Regions from separate parts of the Homo sapiens genome. Here region 2 is linked to region 1. The links are contacts of gene promoters, found by promoter capture Hi-C in blood cells and fetal thymus (Javierre and others, 2016). All regions are on one chromosome and are shown on one strand. Each heading gives the region's core, a stretch centred on a gene start or on the middle of the fragment in contact. The rest is flanking DNA. Distances are from core to core; before and after follow the strand shown.

Region 1 (5,895 bases), core at 1,842-4,341:
TGCCTCAGCCTCCCAAAGGGCTGGGATTATAGGCGTGAGCCACCGCGCCCCGCCTCTATCATCTTTCAAAGGAAGATAACTTCTGCTCTGCCTCTCACACAGGGTTCTCAAGTACTAAAAGCAAAAGGCTTTTAGGAAAAGCAAGCTGTTACACAGATGCAAATCATACCCACTCCTGGAGGTCATTACGCTTGATGGAGTTTGCCGGGCACGATGGCTCACGCCTATAATTGCAACACTTTGGAGGGCTAAGGTGGGCGGATCATTTGAGGTCAGGAGTTCAAGACCAGCCTGGCCAACATGGTGAAACCCTGTCTCTACTAAAAATACAAAAATTAGCCGGGTGTGGTGGCACACACCTGTGGTCCCAGCTACTCAGGAGGCTGAGGCAGGAGAATTGCTTGAACCTGGGGAGTGGAGGTTGCAGTGAGCCAAGATCGTGCCACTGCATCCCAGCCTGAGTGACAGAGTGAGTCTCCATCTAGAAAAATAAAAATAAAAACTTGATGGAGTTTGATCATCATACCATCATACTGTGATCTTTGGGCACCAGCTACCTGTGAGTGTCTCCTACAGAGCTGGGAAAACTTGACTTCCTACACATTGGTTCCAAGGCTAACAGAGCAGGGTTGGGAACCCTGGTTTCCCAGAGAGGTTCCTGAATGGCTCGATTGGCCTGAGCCGCCAGTGGGCTTTGGGACCCAGAGGCCACCTGCTAGACTTGTTCGGCTTTAAGAGAATGGCACTGAACCTGGCATGCAGCAGGAAGTCTCTACTCCTTTTAATTGGCACCAGCCTGGGAGTCTACACACATCGATTCTAGACCCAGCTCTAACCCTGATAAGTTCTGTAACTGTGGACAAGAGGCTGCTTTCTGAGCCTCAGTTTCCCCATCAGAGAGACAGCCTGAGATGGTGGTGAAAGGTTCAGGCTCTGGAATCCAGATACATGGGTTTAAGTCCCTGGTTCCATTTTTCTAGTTTGTGAACTTGGACAAATTGCTTAACCTCCCAAGGCCTCAATTTCCTAATCTGTAAAAGAAGGACAACTTTTTGTTGTTTTCTTGTGAGGCTTCTTGTGAGGATTAGGTGAGATAATGTGTGAAGTGTTTGCCACAGGGTCTACATGCAACTAACCCTTATGGAACATTTTAATCTCCAGTGAAAATCGGTACAAAATGGAGTGGGACCAGCTCTGTGTTCCCATACCCTGCTGTGCATTGGAATCACCTGATAAACTTTATTTTTACTTATTTATTTTTGAGACATCTCTGGCTCTGTCATCCAGGCTGGAGTGCAATGGCACAATCACGGCTCACTGTAGCCTCAAACTCGTAGGCTCAAGCAATCCTCCTGCCTCAGCCTCCCAAGTAGCTGGGACTACAAGTGCACGCCACCTCATCTGACTAAATTTTTTAATTTTTTATAGAGACAGGGTCTCACCTTGTTGCCCAGGCCTAGTCTCAAACTCCTGGCCTCAAATGATTCTCCCACCTTGGCCTCCCAAAATGCTAGGATTATGGGCATGAGCCACCATGCTTGGCCTTATCCTTGAAACTTTAAGATTCCCAGCCCAGCCCTGGAGATCCTGATTAAGTGGGTTTGGAGAAGAGCCTGGGGATGTGTACTCTAGGCAGTCTCCCTGGTTGATTCTGATGTGTTGCTGGCTTAGAGAGCCTTGAACTTGCTGGTAGTCTAGGCCCTGCGATGGTGCAGTGTCCCTTTGGCAGCAATCTCCCAGGTCCACTGAGCAGGCTGGCGTCTGTCTGGCAAGGATGCAGGGAGTGGGACCCTCCACAGACAGGAGACTCTGCCTCCCTGGACTGGCCTCTTGTCTCTGGGAGCTGCACCTGTTCCCAAATCAAGGTCTGGGCTGTGGAAGGAGCCCCCACACCAGAGTGGGAGGGGAGGGGCTCCCTGCACCCCATTCTTCTCCTGACTTTTAGTGTCTGGTTTTCCTTTGTTTTTCATTTATCTACTCTCCCTTGTTTTATCTTGCTCTGTTGAATACAATAACAAGCTTCCTTCGAGGAACACAGCAGAGTAGAAACAAGTGACTAAATATGAAGAAAATGCAATGAGGACACTATAAAGTGACTTCTGTCTTCCAAGAGCCAGAATGTTCCTTGTCTCCTCTGCTTCTCACAGGGTCCCTGTGACCACCAAGTCTGAGATTGGGGGTCCCCTTCTCTCCCGCAGACTGAGACCCAGAGAGAACAAAGCTTTGCCTCCACGGATTGCAGAGCAAGCTGGGAGAGCAGCCAGGACAACAGCCAGGACCCCCACCCCTCCCCCCAGGTCTTCTCACAACACCTCCCCACTCCGCTGAGCCAGACAGCAGAAAAGGAGTTTGAAACAGGAAGTGGGGGCGTGGGTGGCAGGTGCTCCTGCTGGAATTTAAATCCAATTTGGGTTGTTCCCTAAATTCTCATCCCTGCAAACTGAATCCTGGGTCAGGCAGACATAGTTCTGAAAAGCAAGCTAGCCCCCCAACCCCAGCCCCAGATTTGCTCACCCATGCACCCCACCCCACCAAATTCCCAGTAATCCATCGTCCCCTGAGGCCACTGGTCTGGATGGGGCTGGGTGCTGAGGCACAGGAAGGGGAGCTGGTCTTTCCTGAGCACCTCAGGGTGCTCAGGGCCTTTCCTGCATTCTTCACAGCAACCCTGAGAGGCAGTTAGTCTCCCCACTTTTCAGAGGAGAAAACAGAGGTTCAGAAAGAAGTTACTCGCTTAAAGTGCCCAGGCATGAGGAGGATCCAGGCAGGCAGCTCCCAGACCCAGCCTCCTAGAAGGCAGCCCTCTGCTCTTGGGGGACTGCTGCCACCACGGAGAAAAGGCCCACCCTGTCCAGGTGAGGCACCTACCTGTTTCACTGCAGTTCAAGATTCTGCAGAGCTCCTCCAAGAACTTCTCAAACTCTCCATCATCTGCTGCCACCAGGACCTGGCCGTCCTCAATGGCAGAGAAGACCACAGCACCCACCAGGGCGTAGGTCACCAGAAAGCAGAGGAAGCAGAGGCCAGGGAAGAGCTTTCCCAGGGCCTCTGGGCAGCATCTCCTGGCCTGGGGGTGCCCCGAGACCTCCATCGTCCCTGAAGCATGCAGGGCAAGAGGAGCTGGTGGAAGAGGCAGGAGCATCTAAGCCCCGCCAGGAAGATGGGGTAGGAGTGCCCGGAGAACAGCCAGGCTCCAGTGCTAAGTGGATGGTGCGTGTGCTTCCCCAAGGACTCAGGAAGCAGCCGGCAACTCATCATGTTCAGTTCTTCCGAACTACTCAGATGGCGCCCTCCCTAGCACCCCAGATTGCTATTGATCCGCTGGGCCGGCCCTGGAGCTGCCTGGAAGGGGCTTTGGGAGGATAGTGTGGTTGTTGTTTTGTGCTACGTTTAATCTTTTCTATGCCCAAACTGCAGTTTTGAATTGCAGATCCCAAACCTGATCTTTGGCGTTTAGTCAAGTGATTCTTTCCTGAGAGCTGTCTGTGACACAACTTGGCTTAGGGTACCTGGTCTTCTGGACAGGTGATAATAGTAGTAACCTATAATAGTAACAGTAACCATAGTAACTAATGCGGCCAGAGCTCAATGGTTTCCAAAGGACCTTTATCCTGTGTGGATCTAATTATTGGTCCCAATTCTTCACTCCCCTGCTGCATACCCCCCCTTGCTGGGGCCTCACGGTGGGCAGAGTGTACTTCCTTGAACTTGGCTTTAGGGTAGGTCATCTCACTTGCTCCAGACAGCTGGGCATTAGCAGATGTGATGCAAGCAGGGGCTAGGCCTGTGCTTGTGCATTTGGACTTGCTTAGCTATGCCTGTGTCTGCCATGAGAAAAGGTGCCCCACCTTTCAATTTTCAGCTCAGAGTAGACCAATGTGCAACTTTCTTTGGTGGTCCTGAATCCAGGTTCATCCAACACCACCTACCTCCACCATACAGCCTAAGTTTGACCCCAACGAGATTAAAGTCTGAGATGCACCGGGAATGATGTTGGTGCCACATCTGTGCTGGCCCCTAAGATCAAACCCCTGTGTCTGTCTCCAAAACACATTGGTAATGACATCGTTAGGGCAACCGGTGATTTGAAGGATCTGAGGATTACAGTGAAACCATTCAGAACAGGCAGGCATAGATTGAGGTAGTACCTTCTGCCTCTGCCCTGATCATCAAAGCCCTCAAGGAACCTCCAGGAGACAGAAAGAAACAGAAAAACATTAAACCCAATGAAAATATCATTTGATGAGAATGTCAACATTGCCTGACAGATGCAGCTCCAATCTTTAGTTAGGGAACTCTCTGGAACAATTAAAAAGATCCCGGGGACTGCACCATCTGTGGGCTGCAATGTTGATGGTCACCACCCTCATGACATCAACAGTGGTGCAGTGGAATGCTCAGCTTGTTAAGCACAAAGGAAAATATTTCAATAAAGGATCATTTGACAACCAGTGGGGATAAAAAGTGCCTCAGATGGCAGCTGTGGAGATGCATGCAGGTTCAGATCCCTCTTCTAGAAAGGACTCGCTGTGCAGCTTTGATGAGCATGGTTCATGACAGCCCCTTTTGTTCTCTGAGGGTTTGCCACCGGTTTCAAGCCCTCTTCTTGGAGAAGCCTGTGCCCACTGACTAAGCAAGGTGGGGACCCAAGGGCCTATTCATTTCTGCCCAATACAGGACTCCTCCAACTTGAGCCTGTTCCAGAGTGGCCCTTTGGTCTACAGAGAGAACTTGTCAGTCTGTGTTATGATCCAGAGGCTTTCCCTGTTCCATCTGCTTCCTTCATTTTCATTTTACAAGTCTTCCCAAAAAAGCTTTTGCAATTGTGACTCTATCTTGGTGTCTGCTTCCCAGAGGATTCAACAGTAGTTGGCACCAGAAGTGGTCTGAGAAAGCCTGCTCAAAAAGCTAAGATGGGGGTCGGGCACAGTGGCTTGCACCTCTAATCCCAGCATTTTGGGAGGCTGAGGAGAGCGGATTGCTTGCGGCCAGGAGTTTGAGACCAGCCTGGCCAACATGGTGAAACCCTGTCTCTACTAAAAATACAAAAACTAGCCAGGCATGGTGGTGCATGCCTGTAATCCCAGCTACGCTTGGAGGCTGAGGCACAAGAATTGCTTGAACCTGGGAGGCGGAGGTTGAAATGAGCTGACATCACACCACTGTAGTCCAGGATGAACAACAGAGTGAGACTCTGTCTCAAAAAAAAAGAAAGCTAAGATGGGGTTTGAGGACTGGGTCCCTTAATACCCAAGTGGTAAGGAGATGGTGTACAGGCAGCCTTTAGTGCAAGGTGGCTGCCCAACTATTAAACTTGTCACCAGCAGTGAGCTGGGATGGCATGTTGACTGGTGCAATGACTCGCATTCGAAACATATTGAAGGAGCGATAAACACAAGATCAATAAGTTTGGATGGCTATTATAAAGTTGCATTGACCCCCTGCAGGCAAGCTTAGAAGAAGGAGGTTCGTAAAACAAACAGCCCGTTACTGCCACCAGTCTCAAGGCTGCAACTGACACTCATCATCTCCTTCCTTCACTATCCATTCTAATTTTTCCTTGCCCTCTGCTACCTCTTCTACTGGTCTCAATGGCTTACCTGATGGCATGACCCTAATCCTCATCCCGGTGGGAGGGGGGTGCGGATTCTGAGCCCTTGGTAACCATATCCTTTTCAGGTTGTGGCTGCTTGTGCTTGTCCACTCACAGACAGTTGGGTAAGAAGTACTAAGAGGTACCCAAGTGAGTCACCTGACCTCCCCCACTATTATTCTCCGCCCTCATTGTGTGAAAGCAGCCCTGTCTCCTCCTGCTGACCAGGTCAATTGCGCCTGTATTAGTCCGTTCTCATGTTGCTGCAAGGATACTACCCAAGACTGGGTAATTTATAAAGG
Region 2 (5,895 bases), core at 1,147-3,646, 510 kb after region 1:
TGAGGCCAGCCCAGCTGGAGAGGGACAGATGAAAGGTCTCCCCTGAGTGGCCAGCCCAAGCTGTTTTCCACAGACTTGGGGCAGCCTCAGTGTCTTCAGGATGTGAGAGTGTCCTGGGCGGGGGACAGTTCTGCTGGATTTTCAGTTGCACACCAGGCACACTCGGATGCCCTCGAGTTGTAGAATTTTACCCAGGGCTCTTCACCCCTCTAGACTGCTGGATCTGAATTTCCATATAAAGATTTCCCATCTAAGTCAGAGTTCCTGCTCAGAATTTCAGGGGTAGTGTGGGTAGAGAGATGGGGGCAGAGCTTACAGTGTGGGAAGAGGGATGAGGGGCGGAGCTTATGGTGTGGGAAGAGGGATGAGGGGTGGAGCTTATGGTTTGGGAAGGGGTGGGGGTGGAGCTTATGGTGTGGGAAGAGGGATGAGGGGTGGAACTTATGGTGTGGGAAGAGGGATGAGGAGTGGGACTTACAGTGTGGGAAGAGGGGACAAGGGGCGGAGCTTATGCCACCCTTTCTCCCTTCCCATCCCTGTCCCTGCTGCCGTGGCCCAGGCCCACCTTGCTTTTTCTGGCCCTGTGGGGGCCTCACTGCCACAAGTCCCACCTGGCAGGCTGACATCCCAGTGGGACATGGTAACCGTAATGTAGCGTCTGGGTCTTTGCCTTTCTTCCTTCACACCAACTCCTTGGGCTCCACTCATGGGTCTACTGCCATCCCCAGTTTATTTTCAAGTTTGAACTTTGGAGGAGAATTGTATACATACAGGCCTGGCAGTTTCTTTGCAGCAAGTTGTCCCTTCTTCCTCACCCCGTTTTGTGGAAGCTTCCCCCTTGGACCTTCTATGCTCCTGGGAGGTCCTTGACTCCACAACCTCAAGGATGGAAGAATCAGCACAGGAGCTGTCCCTCGGAAGGGGCCCCTCTTGGTCTTATTTGGGATTTCTTCCTCCCGACCCCTTGGGATCCAGGCTCAGAGGTTTCACCTTTCCCGAGGGCACCATACGTGTGAGAGCCACATCCTCTTTCACTTTAACCTCCAGCCATGTTTGTGCTAAGGATGTCTAATGTGACCCTGTGAGAGTGAAGCTGGGGAGGGGGGACTTTTACTTGCTTGAATAGGGGGCAGTGGGAAATCCTGTCATGCACCTGAGTCAGGGCCCTGTTGACCGATGTCACCTAAGGGCAGACCCAGCTTCTCTGACCCATGGGCTGAGCTGACAGGCATTGATGCTGCCCGGGTGGTTGGCCGTAGCTGAGGGTACTAGGTGATGGGAAGAGGGTTCGCCACGGACAGTGCAGGACACGAGAGTGGTGGTTCTTATCTGGTTTTATAAAGTCAGCCTTCCAGATGTGGTTCTGCCATTTTGAGGCATTTGGTATTTACAGAGTGAAGATGTTCAGTCACCTGCCTGCTGGTAGTATCAGTTTTAGCACTGAAAGTCTCACATCCCAGGAAATCTCTCTATCCTGAGCAAACTGGGACAGTGGGCCACCCTCCCTCTCTTTCTACATAAAGTGAAGGAGTTGATAAATAGCTCTGAAGGTCCTTTGCATTCTTTTTTTTTTTTTTTTCTTGAGATGGAGTTTCACTCTTGTCACCCAGGCTGGGGTACAATGGCACCATCTCGGCTCACTGCAACCTCCACCTCCCAAGTTCAAGCATTTCTCCTGCCTCAGCCTCCCGAGTAGCTGGGATTACAGGCACTGCCCCCACCATGCCCAGCTATTTTTTTTTTTTAGTAGAGACGGGGTTTCACCATCTTGGCCAGGCTGGTCTCGAACTCCAGACCTCAGGTGATCTGCCCGCCTCAGCCTCCCAAAGTGCTGGGATTATAGGTGTGAGCCACCACGCCTGGCCACTTTGCATTCTTAATACCTGAAAATCCCCTTCCCTCCTTGCCCAGTAATTGGACCTCCCAAGCCCCTCTGCCCATGATGAGGCCGACTTCGCCTGATGAGAAGTTATTTGTGAGTGTGTGACATTAGGAGACCTTCTGAACCTGGTCTGCAAGAAGAATGCACTAAACCCCAGGGGTCTGATACAGAACTTGAGGCCTTCCTCCCAGTAGGCATGGTATGAAGGCAGCATCCCAAGGTTCCTAAGAAATGGCAAAAAGTCAGCACCACGGCAGTGGCAGGGATGAAGTGTTCTTCCGTGGTCCATCGGGCTGGCAACTGAGGACACCCGTGTACCTGAATGGTTTCCAGAAGCAAGTGGGGCCTCCCGCTGCAGCTCAAGGCCATGAGAGGTGCCAGGGACCTGGTTAGAGGCCCAGCCATGCTGTTTCTCTGAGCATCCTCAGAAGGGTTGTCCCAGGGCCTCTTGAGCTGGCCCTTCTGAAGGCCCACAGGAGTGGTGACTGGGACTGGTCAGATGTCACAGAGCAGAAGCACTTCTGCCTACTACAGGCCAAGGCCCCAAATGTTTGCAGATGGAAGCCACAGATGAGAACTTGGGGATCAGATTGTTAAAGGAATATTTATTACTATATGTGATATATGTCTATAATAAAACTATTAAAGGGTGGAGGCTTTGAATAAGATATCTTCTTGCTGACTCAACCGCACTCTAGAAAATGAGGGACTATATGGGATTCCAGGAGGGGCTTCCTCCTGGAGCCACTGCTTATCTGTCACCCCCAGTAGGCAAATCTCAGGAACCCTCCTAGCGCTCTGGAGATAACAGGTCGGTTACCCAGATAGCAAAGTCAAATGCTTGTGTTGCTGAGGCCCAGCCATGGTCTGTTTCCAAGGCCACCAAAGATAGGGGTTTGCTCCGATTTGGTCAGACCGTGTGGTATATTACAACTGAGAACAGATCACCTGCCTTCCACCCTGTGATGGTTTGGAAAGTTTCAGGGTCTCTGCAACTCCATGCCTTCACCACTGGAGCATGGAAGCCCGTGTGCCTCCTGCAGTCCGGAATCCCCCCGCTCCTCCCCATGGTGCTGCTCAGCTCTGAGCCAAGGAGGCCCCAAGTGCAAGAGGCCCCACAGCCAGAGCACCTGGTGTTTTCCCCAGGGTGCCTATACATTTTCTTTGGCCACCCTGGGGTGTTTGGGTATCTGGCTTGGGGCCCAGTACCGAGGCACCCTGACATTATGCTCTGCAGAGGACTGTGTAGAGAATGTCCCACAGATGCAGAGCACGAGTGCGCCCTCCTTAGGGATGTCAGTCCAGGCACGGGTGTCCTAGGAGCAGGCCGGCCCAGGGGGCCCTGGGTCCCAGCCTCTGTTTCTGTCTTCCAGGCAGGCCTGGCCTCCCCCGAGAACTCGGAGCAGCTCATCATTGCCTTGGAGCCTGAGGCAGCCTCTATCTACTGCCGAAAGCTGCGGCTACACCAGATGATTGAGCTGAGCAGCAAGGCAGCCGTCAATGGGTACAGCGGCAGTGACACAGTAGGAGCTGGGTTTACACAGGGTACCTCTGCTCTCTCTCTCCCCCTCCTGCTCTCCTTCCTTCCCAAGCCCTGGATGTCTCTCTCCCTCTGATGATTTTAAAGGCACTTAGTGCCATAATGAAGAATCAGGATACTCCGGGAGGAGGTGGGCTTTAAGCACCTCTCTGCTCAGCCCCCCTACCTGGCCCCTCCAAGGACCCCCATAAATGGAGGCATGGTTACCCTGGTTCATCACCCACCAAGTGTCTGGGGGCGGGGAGCTTCTCTCTAAGAATCTGAGGGTAGCCTGAGAGCGGTTATTGGCCTCACATTGTACTAGGCTCTTAATCTTTCTTGTGTATTAACAGATTCTTAATCTAATTCCATTGCCTGTTATTAATTCTCCATTAAGACTGTTGATTTATTGCTGAGTCACTCATTGGGTCTGCTTCATGTGCGATGAGTTTAAAATGCAGATGAAACCGGCTGACTTTTCCTGACCTAGGTGACGCTCGCTTAGCTGTGGGAAGGAGCACCGCCTTAGGGAGACTGAGGATGGCGATTTTAAAAAGCTTTTCCTCTTTAATAATTACCTGAATGCAAGTAGGTCATAGCCTTGGTCACAGAACTTGGTTCCCTGGTATCCAGGGCTCTGTGGGTGTGTCGAGGGCTATAGGGTTTGCAGACACGCCCTGTCAGGGTCAAGGCACCAATATGAGCGCTAAGTGAGAGCACTATGGGGGTGGCGCCGGGCACTGTTGTTAAATCTCAAAGGCACGAGGGCCTAAGGTCTAAGGGTTAATTTCAGGCTGCAAGAAAAGAATTGTGGGGCCGGGCGTGGTGGCTTACACCTGTAATCCCAGCACTTTGGGAGGCCGAGGCAGGCGGATCACGAGGTCAGGAAATCCAGACCACGGTGAAACCCCGTCTCTACTAAAAATACAAAAAAAAAAAAAAAAAAAAATTAGCCGGGCGAGGTGGCGGGTGCCTGTAGTCCCAGCTACTTGGGAGGCTGAGGCAGGAGAATGGCGTGAACCCGGGAGGCGGAGCTTGCAGTGAGCCGAGATCGCACCACTGCACTCCAGCCTGGGAGACAGAGCGAGACTCCGTCTCAAAGAAAAAAAAATTGTGGGAACTGCAAGCCCCTTAACCTTTCCTGACCTGATTTCCTTCTCCGAACATAGGGACAATGATTTGTGCCCTCTCATAGCCACATAGGCGTCTCCGCCACTCAGCACCTCAAGCCACAGCAGGAGCGGAGGTTGTCCCTGTGTTCATGGAAAAGGCAGCACAGGGGTTTGCCAGGCCCAGACGCGCCACCTTGTGGCCGCAATGCATATTGGCTTCAGCTGGGTCAGGAAATGGCCCCCCCCCCCAGTCTATTTACCCAGGGTGCATGTTAGGAAAACACACCCCAAATTCCTTGTATCAGACAAAATTCCTTGATTTGGAATTGTTTAACTGAGCGCACTGCAGGCTGTTTGGCAGATAGCTTCCTCCCTGGGGCAGCAAAGCCGGGAAACTAGGCGATTTCATTAACCCATTCTCCAAAAAATGTGACCAGGGTAGGTCTCATTTGAGAGTCTCGCTCTGTCACCCAAGTTGGAGTGCAGTGGCGCACATTTGACCACATTCTCTTCTTTCAGTTTTTTTCACGTGGAAAATGGGGATAATAATTCCACCTAATTCCAAGGGTTGTTGTGAGAATCTCATCAGGGTGGGCTTTTCAGCTGGGCACAGGCTAAGCCGAGGAATAGAGGAAGGCCGGTGGAAATCACTTTCTCTGGGAAGAGCTGGCTTTGTGATTCCCGACATCGTATTGACTTATTTTGGTCAAATGTCACTAATGTTCCATCCCTAAATCTCCTCATGCTATTGCCTTCACTGACTGCAAATGATCTCTGCTTTTTCATGCTTTCTTACCCGTCATCATTTTCTTTCTGTCGGCCACTAGCTAAGGAACACATACGGCGTAATCGGCAGAGTCGGACCTTTTTGGTGGAGAATGTCATAGGAGAAATCTGGTCCGAGCTGGAGGAAGGTAGCGTCCTTCAATGTCCTTTGCTCTTGCTGGATTTTCCTGTGCTGCTCGTGAAAAGCCATTCCCATTTGTCCCTTTTGCACTTTTGGAAAATGTTCAAACTCAGTGGGTTCTAAAGACCACTCATGCAGGGAGAGCTCTTTTGGGAGCTGTAATTTTGCATGTTGTAAAACCAGGTAGGGATTGGAATTGATCAGTTCCAGAGTAAGTCTTTGGTGAAACGCAGATGATTTTAGGGCACTCACTATTCACGTGGCAGGAAACTGCCCACTAAGTACGTGCCAGGTATGCAGCAATGTGTGAATCTTAGATTCACTCACCTGGGTTCTCCATCGTCCATGTCTAACCATCCTCCTGGGCAGATTGCATTCTCTTTGGTCATGGTTAACTCCTAGAGCTGCTAATTAGCAAAACCATTGTGCTAATGAGAAGTTTTGAGGGCACTTAGCTGGGTCTACCTAGTTACCA

The links. Contacts are between HindIII fragments. The CHiCAGO score rates a contact against its expected background, and 5 or more counts as called.
Region 2: a contact is called between a fragment that was not itself captured here and the fragment with the promoter of KCNK18 in region 1, in 3 of 17 cell types (endothelial precursors, M0 macrophages and M1 macrophages). The highest score is 10.1, in endothelial precursors.

The regions. Positions count from the first base shown.
Region 1 is chr10:117,194,685-117,200,579 of GRCh38, reverse strand. KCNK18 (potassium two pore domain channel subfamily K member 18) reads right to left here and starts at 3,091. Exons shown (of 3, transcript NM_181840.1): 1 at 2,869-3,091. The coding sequence starts at 3,091. It also overlaps the pseudogene RPL12P26. The HindIII fragment of the contact is 2,593 bases long and covers 2,224-4,816 here.
Region 2 is chr10:116,681,323-116,687,217 of GRCh38, reverse strand. HSPA12A (heat shock protein family A (Hsp70) member 12A) reads left to right here. Exons shown (of 12, transcript NM_025015.3): 7 at 3,256-3,427; 8 at 5,341-5,427. Among named protein-coding and RNA genes, the nearest start is that of HSPA12A-AS1, 14 kb to the right of the region's middle. RefSeq lists enhancers at 3,895-4,394, 4,395-4,896. The HindIII fragment of the contact is 3,128 bases long and covers 833-3,960 here.